Regions from separate parts of the Homo sapiens genome. Here regions 2 and 3 are each linked to region 1. The links are contacts of gene promoters, found by promoter capture Hi-C in human tissues and cell types (Jung and others, 2019). All regions are on one chromosome and are shown on one strand. The core of a region is centred on a gene start or on the middle of the fragment in contact, and the rest is flanking DNA. Distances in the headings are between cores, read along the strand shown. Region 1 holds the start of CHRNB3 (cholinergic receptor nicotinic beta 3 subunit). Region 2 overlaps CHRNA6 (cholinergic receptor nicotinic alpha 6 subunit). Region 3 overlaps CHRNB3 (cholinergic receptor nicotinic beta 3 subunit).

Region 1 (5,107 bases), core at 1,506-4,005:
AATGGCGTGAACCCGGGAGGCGGAGCTTGCAGTGAGCAGAGATCGCGCCACTGTACTCCAGCCTGGGCGACAGAGCGAGACTCCATCTCAAAAAAAAAAAAGAAAAGAAATTATTGAAGAATTCCAAATCTCAGCAAAGACGATTGTGAAATGTGGATTTTTTTGCTTTGATGCCTTTTGGTATATTTTGTTTCTTCCTTCCACTATTGCCGCCTCGTCAAAAAAAAAAAAAAAAAAAGCATACCACAAATATGGCAGCCTCTTCCGTCACCCATGGAGCTAGCCCTCATGGTGAAATCAAAGAATGCATATTCAATGGATTCTTGATAGCATGAGACCTTTTTCTTCTTTTTTTGAGACCGAGTTTCGCTCTTGTTGCCCAAGCTGGAGTGCAGTGGTGTGATCTCGGCTTTCTGCAACCTCTGCCTCCCAGGTTCAAGCGATTCGATTCTTCTGCCTCAGTCTCCCGAGCAGCTGGGATTACAGGCGTGTGCCACCACGCCTGGCTAATTTTTTGTATTTTTAGTAGAAACGGAGTTTCACCATGTTGGTCAGGCTGGCCTCAAACTCCTGACCTCAGGTGATCTGCCTACCTTGGCCTCCCAAAGTGTTGGGATTACAGGTGTGAGCCATGATGCCCAGCTGAGAGCTTATTAGAAAATGGCTTTGTTTTTATTTCCTCTTGCATTCCTAGACACTGGAACCATTCCTAGGATACAGTAGATGCTCAATAAGTATTTATTGAATGAATAAACACATTGTGTCTTATCATATCATCATGTTGTAAGAGAGATGGGAAGATAAATAAGATACACCTCCTGCTTTTTGAGAGCAGATAGCACACACAAAATATGAAATAGCAATATGAGAGACAACCCATGGCCACACCCAAGGCTCCTTTTTACCAAAGCCAGAAATATAAAAATGAAGGGGTTGCCTCTTGTAATTTGAAAAAAGTAGTTTTGCATAACAAAAAGAAACTATTTTGTTTACAATGAATAGTAAAGTTAAAAAATGTAAGGAAATATGGGACAGATTTAAAAATATGAGCAGATGCTGATGGATCTAGAAATACAGATGTAAGATTTATCACAGGTTATTAGATTTATTATAGATCTGTGAAAGATTACACAATCTTCCCAAACTCTTCCAGCCCACACAATGGAGACCAATGCCAGAGGCCAAGCAATTCCAGTTTTCTTATGTAATCATGATTGTACACAGAGGACGAGACTTAGCTGAACCAAGAGAGTTTATGCTAAACACCCTCGCTAACCATTGAGAGAAATCATTCCTTGGGAAAAGAGTGGTAAGAATCAATTGTCTTATAATAAATAGAATAATAAAGACAGAAAAACATCAGACACACGTACATTAATGGTAAGCTCAAACACACAGAATTTTCTTATCATTTTTGTGATTGGCAAACTGCATTCAAGACTTTGAAAAGTCCAAATTTCATGATATTTGAAAGTGAGTTTGAGGCTTTCTGCATTTAGAAATTCCTGTTTGACTTTGAGTCCTTGGTCTGAGAAAAGGCGTTTTTGACAACAGGATAATGTTCAGGTGCCTCGCAGCCTTGGGAACTTGAAATGTAGAATTTATTTCTGGATTTGGGCAAATCTCCCTTAGTGTCTCCAGTTCTCCATTTGAAAATTACAATAATCAAACGTGGCAAAAATACTACTGAGAAATTAATACAAATTGCTAGTGAACTGACACTTTTCTCACCATCTGGCTGCGGTTTCAGATGGTTTCTGATTCAATGGGGGAAAACTTTCTGTTCTCAAGTTACACAAAAAGTGAAAAGATTCCCAAACCCAGGAAATTGGCAGGTGCAAATGACCAATCCCCAAAGCCTTTCAGTACTTTATTCCCCTTTCTTTTTCTCTTTTTGTTCTTTCTCTGCATCTCTGTCTCTATCTTTCACTTTTTCCTTTTATTTGTCCTTTATCCTTATCAAAAATTCCTCTATTTTCAGTTGATAATAGTCACATAAAACACATAGAGTTTTGATACATTGGTGTTTAATTGTGATATATAAACATGCTAAATCTACCTACATACACAGATTTATTAAAATATATAGGCCTACAGGGCATATTGGACAAAATTAAATATCTACATGCAGATATAGAAATTATTGGTAAATATGATAGAAAAATGTTGATATAGTAAATTTCTGTGCCAAATATTTGAACAATTCTCTGAGTAATGCTCAGTGCATTCAATAATGTTTTTCCTGCTTTTGTATTTTCTTACCAAGCTCATAGTGATTCAGAAGGAGAAACGCAGCAAATGACAAAAACATAAACATTATGAAAATCATAGATATGATTTCTTCAGCAAAAAAAACCCCACATCTCACAGAATTACTCATTTGGGCCACATTTTAAAGGTTATCCTAAATGTATCTTGTGCATTACATATTGTAATTCTAACATTATCAACACCATAGTTTTGCCTCCTCTGCTTAAATAATTCTGCAACTGTAGTTTTAATTTACTGTGACTTGTGCTTACCTGAGGAAGGGATGCCAAGGACGATGAGAACCAGCATAAAATCTGGGAGCATCGTGATGTCAGTTTCAGAAAGACAGTTTCTTCCTTTTTAACAACAGAGCATTTCCACTGGAAAAGGGGGTTTTGAAAAGAAAATACAGGGGTTCAAAATCCGAAGTGGAACCCAAGAGGACAGCAACACCTGGAGTGGAATAAAACAATCTCAACCCCTCTCGCCGAGTGTGCCGCTTCTCAAAGTGCACTTCATTGATTTGCAGTCAGCTGTCAGATCGTGTAAGTCTAAAACATATCTCTGGGTCCTAACTCCTGACTTATTAATTTACTCCCTTGCAAGAGATGCGGGGCACTGGAGAAAGGATGAAACTAGACAACTTCTGAATGTTCTGTGCTATTTTTCTTACAGTTGGAGATCTGCGTACAGAAGAACCACACTTTACCACATCCATAGTGAAAAGTTTCTCATCCCCGTTATTTCTCTATTCTCTTTTCTTTTTCTTTTTATTCTTTTTTTTTTTTTTTTGATATGGAGTCTCACTCTGTCACCCAGGCTGGAGTGCAATGGTGCAATCTCGGCTCACTGCAACCTCCGTCTCCCAGGTTCAAGCCATTCTCCCACCTCAGCCTCCTGAGTAGCTGGGATTATAGGCACCTGCCATCATGCCCAGCTAATTTTTGTATTTTTGTAGAGACAGGGTTTCACCATGTTGGCCAGGTTGGTCTTGAACTCCTGACCTCAGGAGATCCGCCCGCCTTGGCCTCCCAAAGTGGTGGGATTACAGGCATGAACCACTGCGCCCAGCCTCTCTATTCTCTTTTCCAGTTGGACCTGAAGTCATGAGTATGTCCTGGAGCCTCCCTATTCTGCTGGTTCCCACATGTGTTAATATCAGCACATTCTCTGTGGCTCCCTTGACCCCACCAGGCCCACCTTCTGGTCACTGCAGGGGACAGTAGGGTGGGAGGTTAGTGGTGTTTTATGTATGAGACTTGGACACTAATAACACCATCCTTTCTTCTTCACAGTTGATCAGATTTCATCTAGTTCAGTGCTGTGCACACCCAGAGGGCCCTTGATAAATGCATGATACATCAAATGAATGGCAAGTACAAAGTCAGGGCTAGACAGACAAGAGGGCCAGGTGGGAGCCAAGACCTATCTGGTTGGGAACTGAGTGCTGGAGGAACCCACTCCAGGGCATGGAGGAATTCTGTCTTAGCGGCAGTGATTTAGTCCAATTTTTAAATTTCTTAATTTAACCCTCCTCTGTGTGCCATTAGTGAGTTTGAGACACCCAGAGGGTGCTCGGTAAGGAGGCATCATGTGTGGAAAAGAGGTCTAGCCCAGGACCCCGGGACCCTGAGCTCTTGAGCCCTGTCTGTTCCTCAGGGCCCCTGTCTCAGAGCCCCTCACATCACAATGTCGCTGCCCTGCCTGGCCTCCCTTCCTAGACCACCAGCTCCTGCAGGAGGGCTTGGTCTCCAGCCCTCTGGAGTCTCCTCTGTATCTCTCTGTGTCCAGGGCCTGACACCTGCAAATGCTTGAGAACGTTGTGGGAATGCAAGGAGGAAGGAAGGAGCCATGCACTGATTTCCTCCTATCCATCTCAACTGTGCTCCCAGCCTGCTGAGAATTTGTAATGGTCTCAGGAGTAAATCAGCCACCGCCAATCCAAGTGTGCAGGAAGTTTCACCTTTATTTTCAAGAAATTGAATAAAATGAAGCTAGCCTTCCATGGAACTGGCTGGAAATCCAATCTCAGTCATTGCAGGCCCTGCAGCCTTCTCCCTAGGGGAGCAACTGAATCTGGAAGCCTTTTGTGGTCCCCAAAATATGGCACAGTCTTGTATCCTCCAGGCTGCCTTGACCACAGCTGGGGTCCATGCCCCACCCACACGGTCCCATGGAGCCAACAGCTCGGTTGCTCTTTGCCTTCTCCGATGCCAAGGATTCTGCCAAGACCCAGGATTCTGCCAATACCGGAGGCCTTGGTAACAGGACCCTGCCTCCCTGGGTCCCACACAACCCTGGCCTGCTGAGGACTGCACCCCTTGAGTGCAACCCTGAGCAGGGCACGGTCCTGCTGCCAGAAGGACCTGCCAGCCCCTTCCTATGCCTTGGGAAGTTCTTTTCTGTCTCACTTTACAGCCACCTTTCTCCCTGCAAAGATACTCAACTCTTCACCATCCCACTGTAGAAACCTCAAATCATCTCTCCATTGAGTTTAGACTTTGGGGGGAAAAGCGGACATCAAATAGACACAGGAAAAGAGGCTGTCTTGCTCTGTTGCCCAGGCTGGAGTGCAGTGGCGCAATCTCGCCTCACTACAACCTTCACCTCCCAGGTTCAAGCAATTCTCCTGCCTCAGCCTCCTGAGTAGCTGGGATTACAGGTGTCCACCAGCACGTGCAGGTAATTTTTATATTTTTAGTAGAAACAGGGTTTCACCATATTGGCCAGGCTAGTCTCGAACTCCCAACCTCCAGTGATCCAACTGCCTCATCCTCCCAAAGAGCTGGGATTACAGGTGTGAGCCACTGTGCGAGCCCGGCCAGGTGTGCTTTCAATTGAAGATGTAAGTTCTGAT
Region 2 (5,107 bases), core at 1,854-4,353, 61 kb before region 1:
TTGATTTTTCCAAGAAGGAGGTACAGGGTGATGGCACCAGGAATGGAGTTGATGCTGTGGGTCTTTGGACTCCTCCGGCAGAGATGTCTGATAGCAGTGCCATGCCCATTGGTGGGATCTGGAATTGGATGGAGAGAGAGTATGACTTGCCAGACAGGTCCTGCTCCATAGGGTCAGCTGACATCTCTGAAGGTGTCCACATCCCCATGGGCCATGTCCATACCACCTGGAGCTTCTCCGAGCCTGCGGAAGTGAGGCTGTGGAGTTGGCTATTGCCAACTGATCTCAGCCTTCTGAACACAGTGTGCTTATTCAGAGACAAAGCAGGCTTTGAAGGGCAGTTAGGGCTTATGCCCTCACCCCCAAGGCCTTCCTGGAACCGAGACTGCAGGGCTAGTCCATTCCTGACCAACAGTGAGTGGATTTATGGACATGGCCCCTGCTGGACTCTGCAGATTGCAAGGGGACGCTCATTACCAGAAGGCATGACCGCAGGCTTGTGTAATCGTAAAGCCATGAATTGGTTGACCAATAGATAAGCACAGATAATTTCTTTGCTTCCTGGGACTACAGGAACCCATGACTGTAACTCCTTTGCTGACCTTTCAAATCCCGGGGCTTACCCTGTCTTGTCACAGGCCCATTTGAAAGAGGAAGCCCAGCAGGGTTTCTGTTTAGAGTTTTCCAGAAGGGGCAGCAGTGGGGATGGAGTAGGGGAGAAGAGAACTGCAGGGCAGCCACGTGGCCCAGGGGAAGCTGGTGTCTGAGTCTGACCACGACTCCCTCAGCCACCACCATGGAGCTCATTTACTCTGGAGGGTGCCTGGGTGTCTTGGGAAGCAAGGTTGGCTGAGGAAGACTTGTGAATCTGCTGCTGGCCACTGGGGACATAAACAGCCACCAGGCTGCTGGGCTGTAAGGCCACTCAAGGTGCCAGGTGTGTCTTTGGTAGTTCTCCCACTGAGAGGTGGTAGCTTAGGAACTCATTACATTTGGGATGTCACCTGGAATGGTCTTCCTCCACACAGCCCTGACTGTCTTCTGGTCATTTAAGTATCTGCTTAAACATTACCTCCTCAAAGAAGCCTTCTTTGCCCATCCCATCTAAAATAGATGTGTGTGTGTGACTGAGATCATGTGCACATGTGTGCTAGCGTGTGTGTGCATGACTGTGAGTGTGTGTGCATGAGTGTGTTTGAGTGTGTGTGCATGTGCACCAGTGTGTGAGCCTGTGTATGACTGTGTGAGTGTGCCTGAGTGTGAGTGGGTATGAGTGTGTGCATGAGCGTGTGCATGTGCATGAGTGAGTGCATGTGCATGAGTGAGTATGCACCAGTGTGTGTGTATGAGTGTGAGTGCACACGTACGAGTGTGTGTATGAGAGTATACGTATAAGAGTACGAATGTGTATGAGAATTCATGAGTGGGTATATGAGTTTGCATGATTGTGTGTTCACGAGTGTGTGTGCGCATGAGTGTGAGTGTGCATGAGTGTGTATGAGAGTACCGTGTATATGCATGTGTGTATGAATGTGTGTGCATGAGTGTGTGAGTGTGCATGAGTGTGCGTGTGTATGAGTGTGCGTGTGTGTGCATATGTGTGTGTGTGTCCACACATGGACCATTCCATCCCTCTTTATTTGTCCTCATAGGACTTAACGCTGTCTTATGTTATAGTATAGATGTATTAGTAATTTTATGTCTCCCCATCTAACAGCTAAGACACATGAAGGCAGGACCTTTTCCCAACTTCTTATTGCTGTATTCCCAATATTTATAGAGCACATAGTGGTTACTCAATAAATATTTGTGTAGTGAACGATCGAAGTGGTGGCTTCGCTGGGGGTGAGTAGCAGCTGCCAGCTGGAAACCCCATGGTGGCCAAGGCTGACTTTTTTTTTTTTTTTTTTTGAGATGGAGTCTTTGTCGCCTGGGCTGGAGTACAGTGGCACGATCTCCGCTCACTGCAACCTCCACCTCCCTGGTTCAAGCAATTCTCCTGCCTCAGCCTCCCAAGTAGCTGGGATTACAGGCGCCCGCCACCACACCTGACTATTTTTTTGTATTTTTTAGTAGAGACGGGGTTTCACCATATTGGCCAGGGTGGTCTCGAACTCCTAACCTCAGGTGATCCACCCGCCTCGGCCTCCCAGAATGCTGGGATTACAGGTGTGAGCCACCGCGCCCAGCTGGCTGAGGCTGGCATTTCAAGATAGGATCCCAGGGCAGGGGTCTCAGGACTCAGAGCCCAGAGAGCCCTGAGGCACAGTCGAGGATGGGAGGCGTTTAGGGAACAGGCAAAAACACTGTGCGGGGTTGGAATCCTCACCACTTTCTGCAGCATCTCCCTCCCTCCTACCTGCTGTCGCTCTTCTTTTCTTTCCTTCCTTTCATGGAACTAGAAACCTTTATGGGCTGCAGAGATCGGAAGCACTTCACAGAAGAGGTGAGGCTTAAATCAGCTATGAAAGAGTTTAAAGCCACATTGCCTCTCAAAATCCACAGGGCTGGAGCCAGATGTGAAAATGCGGCATTTCTGCTTGCATGCTGAATGCTTTCACACATTGCCTTGAAGTCTTCTTCTATTGGCATGAATAAGTCAGATTTGGTTCTTTTTAGTTGTAATTTTTGCTCTAAGTCTCACCTCTATGGCAAGCACATTTGAGGCTAAAAGTATTATTTCTTCTTCCCAGGATGAAGTAAACCAGATCATGGAAACCAATTTGTGGCTGCGTCACGTATGTGCCTATATCATGTGTTGGCTTAATGATGTTGAATGGATAAAACCCACAAGCACTACCTTGTTCCATCTCCAACTGGTTATAGAATATAAAATATTATCCACTAGGTCATCTCCAAAGCCTAAAGTTCAGCTCTGGTAATAGCTGACTTGATGCATGCTTCACAGGTGCAGACACTTAGTGACAAAGGTCCCTCTGACATAGAGGTTTCCATCCTTCCTGGTTGCTGCTCTCAGATCTTCCACTTTTCTGTAACTTGAGCTCCAGGGTCTGATGCTTGCCTGCTCTTTGATCCCTGCTTGACCAGGCTTGGAGAAGTCAGTAGCTGAGCTTGGGAGCATGTACATGAGATTCCCAGCAGCTGGTTTTATCAGTTATACCTTTCTTCCTTAAGAAAGTCTTGGAGGGGTGCAGTGGCTCATGCCTGTAATCCCAGCACTTTGAGAGCCCAAGGTGGGCGGATCACCTGAGGTCAGGAGTTCGAGACCAACTTGGCCAACATGGTGAAATGAAACCCTGTCTCTAATAAAGATACAAAATTAGCCCGGCGTGGTGGTGGGTGCCCGTAATCCCAGCTACTCGGGAGGCTGAGGCAGGAGAATCGCTTGAACCAGTAGGCAGAGGTTGCAGTGAGCTGAGATTGCACCACTACATTCCAGCATGGGCAACAGAGCGAGACTCTGTCTTGAAAACAAAACAAAACAAAAAAAAAACAGAAAGGAAGTCTTAATCGTTTATACAGATTTTTTTTTAATTCAAAGCTTATCATCATACCCTTGAACTTTTTGATATTAGAGCTATACTCCAGTGTGAGTATAGCTCACGGAATATGGAAGTTGAGCCTAAAACTTTAACCAGCTAACTAATAATCAATACATAATTATCTAATGAAATATTTGCCTAAATCAGCTCAGCTATTTAGCTCCCTGTTCCCCATGGATATAATTGTCCAGATTTTGATAGCAACCAATGCATTCTTCAAATAAGAATGTATTATTTTTACTTTTTTTTTTTGTTTTTTGGTTTTTTTTGAGACGGAGTCTCGCTCTGTCGCCCAGGCTGGAGTCCAGTGGCGCGATCTCGGCTCACTGCAAGCTCCGCCTCCCAGGTTCACACCATTCTCCTGCCTCAGTCTCCTGAGTAGCTGGGACTACAGGGGCCCGCCACCACGCCCGGCTAATTTTTTTTGTATTTTTAGTAGAGACGGGGTTTCACCGTGTTAGGCAGGATGGTCTCGATCTCCTGACATCGTGATCTGCACGCCTCGGCCTCCCAACGTGCTGGGATTACAGGCGTGAGCCATCGCGCCGGGCCACTTTTTTTTTTTTTTTTTGAGACAGAGTCCCGGTCCGTCGCCTAGGCTGGAGTGCAGTGGCACGATCTCGGCTCACTGCAAGCTCCGCCTCCTGGGTTCATGCCATTCTCCTGCCTCAGCCTCCGGAGTAGCTGGGACTACAGGCAACCACCACCATGCCTGGCTAATTTTTTTTTTTTTTTGTATTTTTAGTAAAAATGGGGTTTCACCGTGTTAGCCAGGATGGTCTCAATCTTCTGACCTAGTGATCCGCTCACCTCGGCCTCCCAAAGTGCTGGGATTACAGGCGTGAGCCACCACGCCTGGCCAAATGTATTCTTTTTTCAACAACAACTGTTGAACCATCATAAAGTTAACATTGGAAGAAAGTTATTAAGAAACACATTTTTTTTTTCCAGATAGAGTCACCCAGGCTGTAGTACAGTGACATGATCTCAGCTCACTGCAAACTCTGCCCCCCACGTTCAAGAGATTCTCCTGCCTCAGCCTCCCGAGTAGTTGGGACTACAGGCGCTGGCCACCACACCCGGCTAATTTTTGTATTTTTAGTAGAGACGGGGTTTCACTATGCTGGCCAGGCTGGTCTCGACCTCCTGACCTCAAGTGACCTGCCTGCCTCGGCCTCCCAAAGTGCTGGGATTACAGGCGTGAGCCACCATGCCTGGCCCGAAAGTTATTAAGAAATTTTAAAAGCTGATTTCTATTTATTTTAGATCTGGAATGATTATAAATTGCGCTGGGATCCAATGGAATATGATGGCATTGAGACTCTTCGCGTTCCTGCAGATAAGATTTGGAAGCCCGACATTGTTCTCTATAACAAGTATGGGTCTCTGACCACCGTAGCCTCTTTCCAAAGCTGCTGTTGGTGTATTCTGGCCTATAGCAAAGGGAGTGTTACTAATGGTGTCTGACTTGCTTTGCAGTGCTGTTGGTGACTTCCAAGTAGAAGGCAAAACAAAAGCTCTTCTTAAATACAATGGCATGATAACCTGGACTCCACCAGCTATTTTTAAGAGTTCCTGCCCTATGGATATCACCTTTTTCCCTT
Region 3 (5,107 bases), core at 1,033-3,532, 39 kb before region 1:
AAAGTGAAATGAAGGTGAGGGGAAGTGAGGGTCCTAAAGAAATTATTTTGTGTAGAAAGTGGCAGCCACAAACACTAATTCTCAACATTGATTTAAAAAGTTGAATGTTTATTAATAAATTAATAGAAGCGGACATGTAACTTTCAAGCCATTAAAGGCAAAGAAGGAATGGACAAACTACAAACTCGGCCAAGGCTGAAAAAGTGGGGGAAAAGGTGAAGGGAAAAAGGTGAAGGAACAAGAGAATGTTATACAGAAAGCACAAACTAAATGGCATTAATAAGACGAAATACATCAGTGGTAACAATATGTGAAGGTGTTTCATGCTTAGATTTTTTTTTTTTTAAATGGAATCTTGTTCTGTTGCCTAGGCTGGAGTGCAGTGACGCAATCTCGGCTCATTGCAAGCTCTGCCTCCCGGGTTCAAGTGATTCTCCTGCCTCAGCCTCTCAAGTAGATGGGAGTATAGGCATGGACCTGGCTAATTTTTTGTATTTTTAGTAGAGATGGGGTTTCACTGTGTTAGCCAGGATGGTCTCGATCTCCTGACCTTGCGATCCATCCACCTTGGCCTCCCAAAGTGCTGGGATTACAGGCGTGAGCCACTACGCCCAGCCACTTAGATTTTTTTTTAAGAGACTGCGTCTTGCTCTGTCGCCCAGGCTGGAGTGCAGTGGAGCAATCATGGCTCACTGCAGCCTCCAACTACTGGGTTCAAGTGATCCTCCCATTTCAGCCTCCTGAGTAACTGAGACTGTAGGCACACATCACTAAAATTGTTAAAATTTTAATTTTTTAAATTTTTTGTAGAGACAGGGTCTTGCTGTAGAGAGCAGGCTGGTCTCAAACTCCTGGCCTCAAGCAATCCTCCTGATTTGACCTCCCAAAGTGCTAGGATTATGGGTGTGAGCCACTCCACCCAGCCTAGATTGCAAACTGCTTGCAAGAGCCATGCCTAAAAGTACTCCAGAAAGGGATTTGGATTTATAACTGGGCAGAGAGAAAAATTGCTTTAAGCTAAAATTCAGGAAGGATTGGGCAGAGGCAGCAATTTTGGAGGGCAAGAAGAACCTGAGCAGACTCCCCTCGGAGTCTTAGAGAAGGAATGATGGTGGGTGGGGGTGAAGCCCACCCAGGTGCCAGGAGACAGGGAAACAGCAGGTGGAGCCTAGGGGATAGTGTTGGTATGGATCCGATTAGACGAGGTGACATCAAAAACCATTAATCAGAGAATGTTCTGTACACTAGTTTACTAGGAAAAGATAATGGGTATTAATGAATCCACTTCTGGTAGCAAAGGGCTTTGTTTCTATTGTGAGTTATTTTGGTATGCATGACCTTAAAGGAAGTCACAGCTCACAGTGGGCTCCAGTTTCACCATCTGAAAGCCTTATCATGCTGGGAATAAACCATGAATAACACCTGCTTCGGTAGGCCAGGCAACTTGGAATCTGTGTTATTGTTAAGTGTGCAGTGCCAGCTATCCTGCCAGTGTAATCCCCAAACCCTTGTTGAGATTTGCCTGGCCCATTGCTAACAAGCATAACACGGCCCCAGTTTGCAGCTCAGACAAAACCACCAAGGAGGCCAGTGCAGGGTGGGAGATCCAGGCTCTGCCCACACAGATAGCTCGACACCGAGACTTCCTTAATTCCAGGTGAATCCCCCCTCCCCCACCACCGAGGCCTGCTGCTTCTAGGAGGTGTTCCTCCACCAAGTAGCAACAGCTTTTTGTGCACTCTGGCCACATGTGAGCTCAAGCCTGGACCTATGATCCCTCCCTGAATGTCTGGGAAAGCCAAGGCAGGGGTCTGAGGAGGCTCCACTTTCTTTAAAAGCAGCTCACTCTCATGGCAACCACAAATGAGCACATTTACCAGAGTTTCTCCCATGAGGAGATGTTCCATTTCCACAAAGACAACGCATTCGGGGTTCGTAGAACAAGCACATGCATTTGGATTCTGTCTGTGTGATAGCCAGATGTCAGGTCTAAGGTGTAATTTAGTCTTATGTCTTTTAAATTCCTAATGGTAACTATGTAGCCACATCTTCAAAGCAGGGGTAAAAATCAGAACCGAGCCTGTTACTGACACTATCAGAAAGAGCCACAGGAAGATTCGGTCAAGAACTTGAGCTACAAATTTCCAGTCTTGTACTACCTGCAAAAGAGAAAAAGATGCCTTTCACTCAAGACACTGAGCAACTGTTCTGTATTCATCTCAAGGGATTAAAAAAGAGTAACATTCAGATTTATAGCATTTACTTAAGTTTTCAAAATGCATCTAATGTCCCAACCACACTACAGGCTCAGGTTCTTTCAGGGACTTCGCTAATTGTGCCCAAAAGAAGCAGCTTGGAACACTCTCATCAGCACTGAAGAAGGAAAATAGAAACAATAGAATTCTGTATGCATATGTCAACATTCCTGATCAGAATAGGAAAAGTCTGATTTTTACATGAATAAAGAGCCACTATAGGCCAGGTGCGGTGGCTCACGCCTGTAATCCCAGCACTTTGGGAGGCCTGGGGGTGGGGGGATCACCTGAGGTCAGGAGTTCGAGACGAGCTGGCCAACATGGTGAAACTCCCTCTCTACTAAAAATACAAAAATTAGCTGGGCATGGTGGCGGGCACCTGTAATCTCAGCTACTTGGGAGGCTGAGGCAGGAGAATTGCTTGAACCCAGGAGACAGAGCATATCTTAGGAAGCCAGTATATCTTACTAGGGTGCTTCCTGATACACGTATGAAAAGAATCACAAGTTTATAATTTAAGAGTTTTTGTGGCCAAATGTCACAGGCTTTCTTTTCTTCCACTCCACCTGTGCTGCAGCTCCAGAAGGAAGGGTGCTGCCAAGGAGAAGAACCGACCAGGACAAGACAGGAATTCATGAAGGAGACAAGAAACTGAGTCCCCTTTATTAGGAAGGGGAGGTGCAGAGAGTGGGCAACAGGTCCATAAACACAAAGTCAAGGCACGACTGGCTGGGGAAGTCTGAAAGGAAGGGGAGTCCTCATCCCTCTAGAGTAAATAAATGTCCTCCGTCTTGGGGAAAAAAAAGAAATCTTTGTATTAGGTTTTTGTTTTGTTTTGTTTTGTTTTGCTTTTTTGAGACATAGTCTCACTCTGCCACCCAGGCTGCAGTGGTGCAATCTTGGCTCACTGCAACCTCCACCTCCTGGGTTTAAGTGGTTCTCCTGCCTCAGCCTCCCGAGTAACTGGGATTACAGGCACTCGTCACCATGCCCAGCTAATTTTTGTATTTTTAGTAGAGACAGGGTTTCAACGTGTTAGCCAGGCTGGTCTCGAGCTGCTGACCTCAGGTGATCCACCCGCCTCGGCCTCCCAAAGTTCTAGGATTACAGGCGTGAGCCACCACACCCGGCCTGTATTAGTGTTTTTTTGTTTGTTTGTTTGTTTTTTGAGACGGAGTCTTGCTCTGTCGCCCAGGCTGGAGTGCAGTGGCATGATCTTGGCTCACTGCAAGCTCCGTCTCCCGGGTTCACACCATTCTCCTGCCTCAGCCTCCCGAGTAGCTGGGACTACAGGCGCCGGCCACCACGCCCGGCTAATTTTTTGTATTTTTTGTAGAGACAGGGTTTCACCCTGTTAGCCAGGATGGTCTCCGTCTCCTGACCTCGTGATCCGCCCGCCTCGGCCTCCCAAAGTGCTGGGATTACAGGCGTGAGCTACCGCGCCTGGCCCTGTATTAGTGTTTTTAAAAGATGTTAAGAAACAAACAAAAAAATTCTCCCAACTTGACAGCTGAATGTTTCTTGTCTAGCAGCAGTCACTTTTCTAGTGCTTTTAAAAACAATTTTAAGTGGATGAAAAACATGACAGATTGTTAAGAGAGAGGACATATGAGGCAGTGTCTGTGAACGCAAGAGAAAATGTAGAAGGATATTTCTAAAAAAAATTCTTGGCCAGGTGCAGTGGCTCAGGCCTGTAATCCCAGCACTTTGGGAGGCCGAGGTGGGCGGATCACGAGGTCAGGAAATCGACACCATCCTGGTTAACACAGTGAAACCCTGTCTCTACTAAAAACACAAAAAATTGGCCAGGCGTGGTGGCGGGTGCCTGTAGTCCCAGCTACTCGGGAGGCTGAGGCTAGAGAATGGCACGAACCCGGAAGGTGGAGCTTGCAGTGAGCTGAGATCGAGCTATTGCACTACAGCCTCGGTGACAGAGCGAGACTCCATCTCAAAAAAAAAAAAAAAAATTCTTTCATCAGTTTGTTTACGGGATCAGGCTCTTGGCACTAATTTTCATCAATTTTAGAGTAAAATATTTGAACCCTATAAATTGAAGTTCTCATATAAATTGAAAATATGTAACTTGCTTTAGGCAACAGATCACTTTTTTTTTTTTTTTTTTTTTTTTGAGATGGAGTCTCGCTCTGTCGCCAGGCTGGAGTGGAGTGCAGTGGTGCACTCTCAGCTCACTGCAACCTCTGCCTCCCAGGTTTAAGTGATTCTCCTGCCTCAGCCTCCCAAGTAGCTGGGACTACAGGCTCCCACCACCACGCCTGGCTAATTTTTGTATTTTTAGTAGAGATCAGGTTTCACCACGTTGGCCAGGATGGTCTTGATCTGTTGACCTCGTGATCCACTCACCTTGGCCTCCCAAAGTGCTGGGATTACAGGCATGAGCCACCGTGCCTGGCCCAACAGATCACTTTTTACGCTTAATATCTGCACGTCAAATAATATTTTCATTCCACTGGGGAAGGACTGTTTAGAAGAATGGGCTGGTCACGGTGGCTCATGCCTGTAATCCCAGCACTTTGGGAGGCTGAGGCAGTGGATCACCCGAGGTCAGGAGTTCGAGACCATTCTGGCCAACATGGCAAAACCCCATCTCTAATGAAAATTCAAGAAAAATTAGCCAGGTGTGGTGGTGTGTACCTGTAGTCCCAGCTACTTGGGAGGCTGAGACAGCAGAATCGCTTGAACCCAGCAGGCGGAGGTTGCAGTAAGCTGAGATCACACCACCGCACTCCAACCTGGGTGACAGCAAGACTCCTCTCAAAAAAAAAAAAAAAAAAAAAGAAGAAGGATGAGGATGATAATTAGAAAGGCGAGAATTCACACTTGTTGACTGCTTA

Evidence for each region. Contacts are between HindIII fragments. The study calls those that stand out against the background at their distance.
Region 2: a contact is called between a fragment that was not itself captured here and the fragment with the promoter of CHRNB3 in region 1, in 1 of the 25 tissues and cell types used here (mesenchymal stem cells).
Region 3: a contact is called between a fragment that was not itself captured here and the fragment with the promoter of CHRNB3 in region 1, in 1 of the 25 tissues and cell types used here (liver).

The regions. Positions count from the first base shown.
Region 1 is chr8:42,695,014-42,700,120 of GRCh38, reverse strand. CHRNB3 (cholinergic receptor nicotinic beta 3 subunit) reads right to left here and starts at 2,755. Exons shown (of 6, transcript NM_000749.5): 1 at 2,523-2,755. The coding sequence starts at 2,574. It overlaps LOC124900250 (a long non-coding RNA gene), which reads left to right and starts at 1,230. Exons shown (of 3, transcript XR_001745887.2): 1 at 1,230-1,309; 2 at 2,621-2,795; 3 at 3,546-3,623. The HindIII fragment of the contact is 12,880 bases long and covers 1-5,107 here.
Region 2 is chr8:42,756,700-42,761,806 of GRCh38, reverse strand. CHRNA6 (cholinergic receptor nicotinic alpha 6 subunit) reads left to right here. Exons shown (of 6, transcript NM_004198.3): 3 at 2,694-2,738; 4 at 4,770-4,879; 5 at 4,983-5,107. Among named protein-coding and RNA genes, the nearest start is that of CHRNA6, 9.5 kb to the left of the region's middle. The HindIII fragment of the contact is 3,051 bases long and covers 1,578-4,628 here.
Region 3 is chr8:42,733,536-42,738,642 of GRCh38, reverse strand. CHRNB3 (cholinergic receptor nicotinic beta 3 subunit) reads right to left here. Exons shown (of 6, transcript NM_000749.5): 6 at 1,236-2,159. The coding sequence ends at 2,025. Among named protein-coding and RNA genes, the nearest start is that of CHRNA6, 33 kb to the left of the region's middle. The HindIII fragment of the contact is 8,723 bases long and covers 1-5,107 here.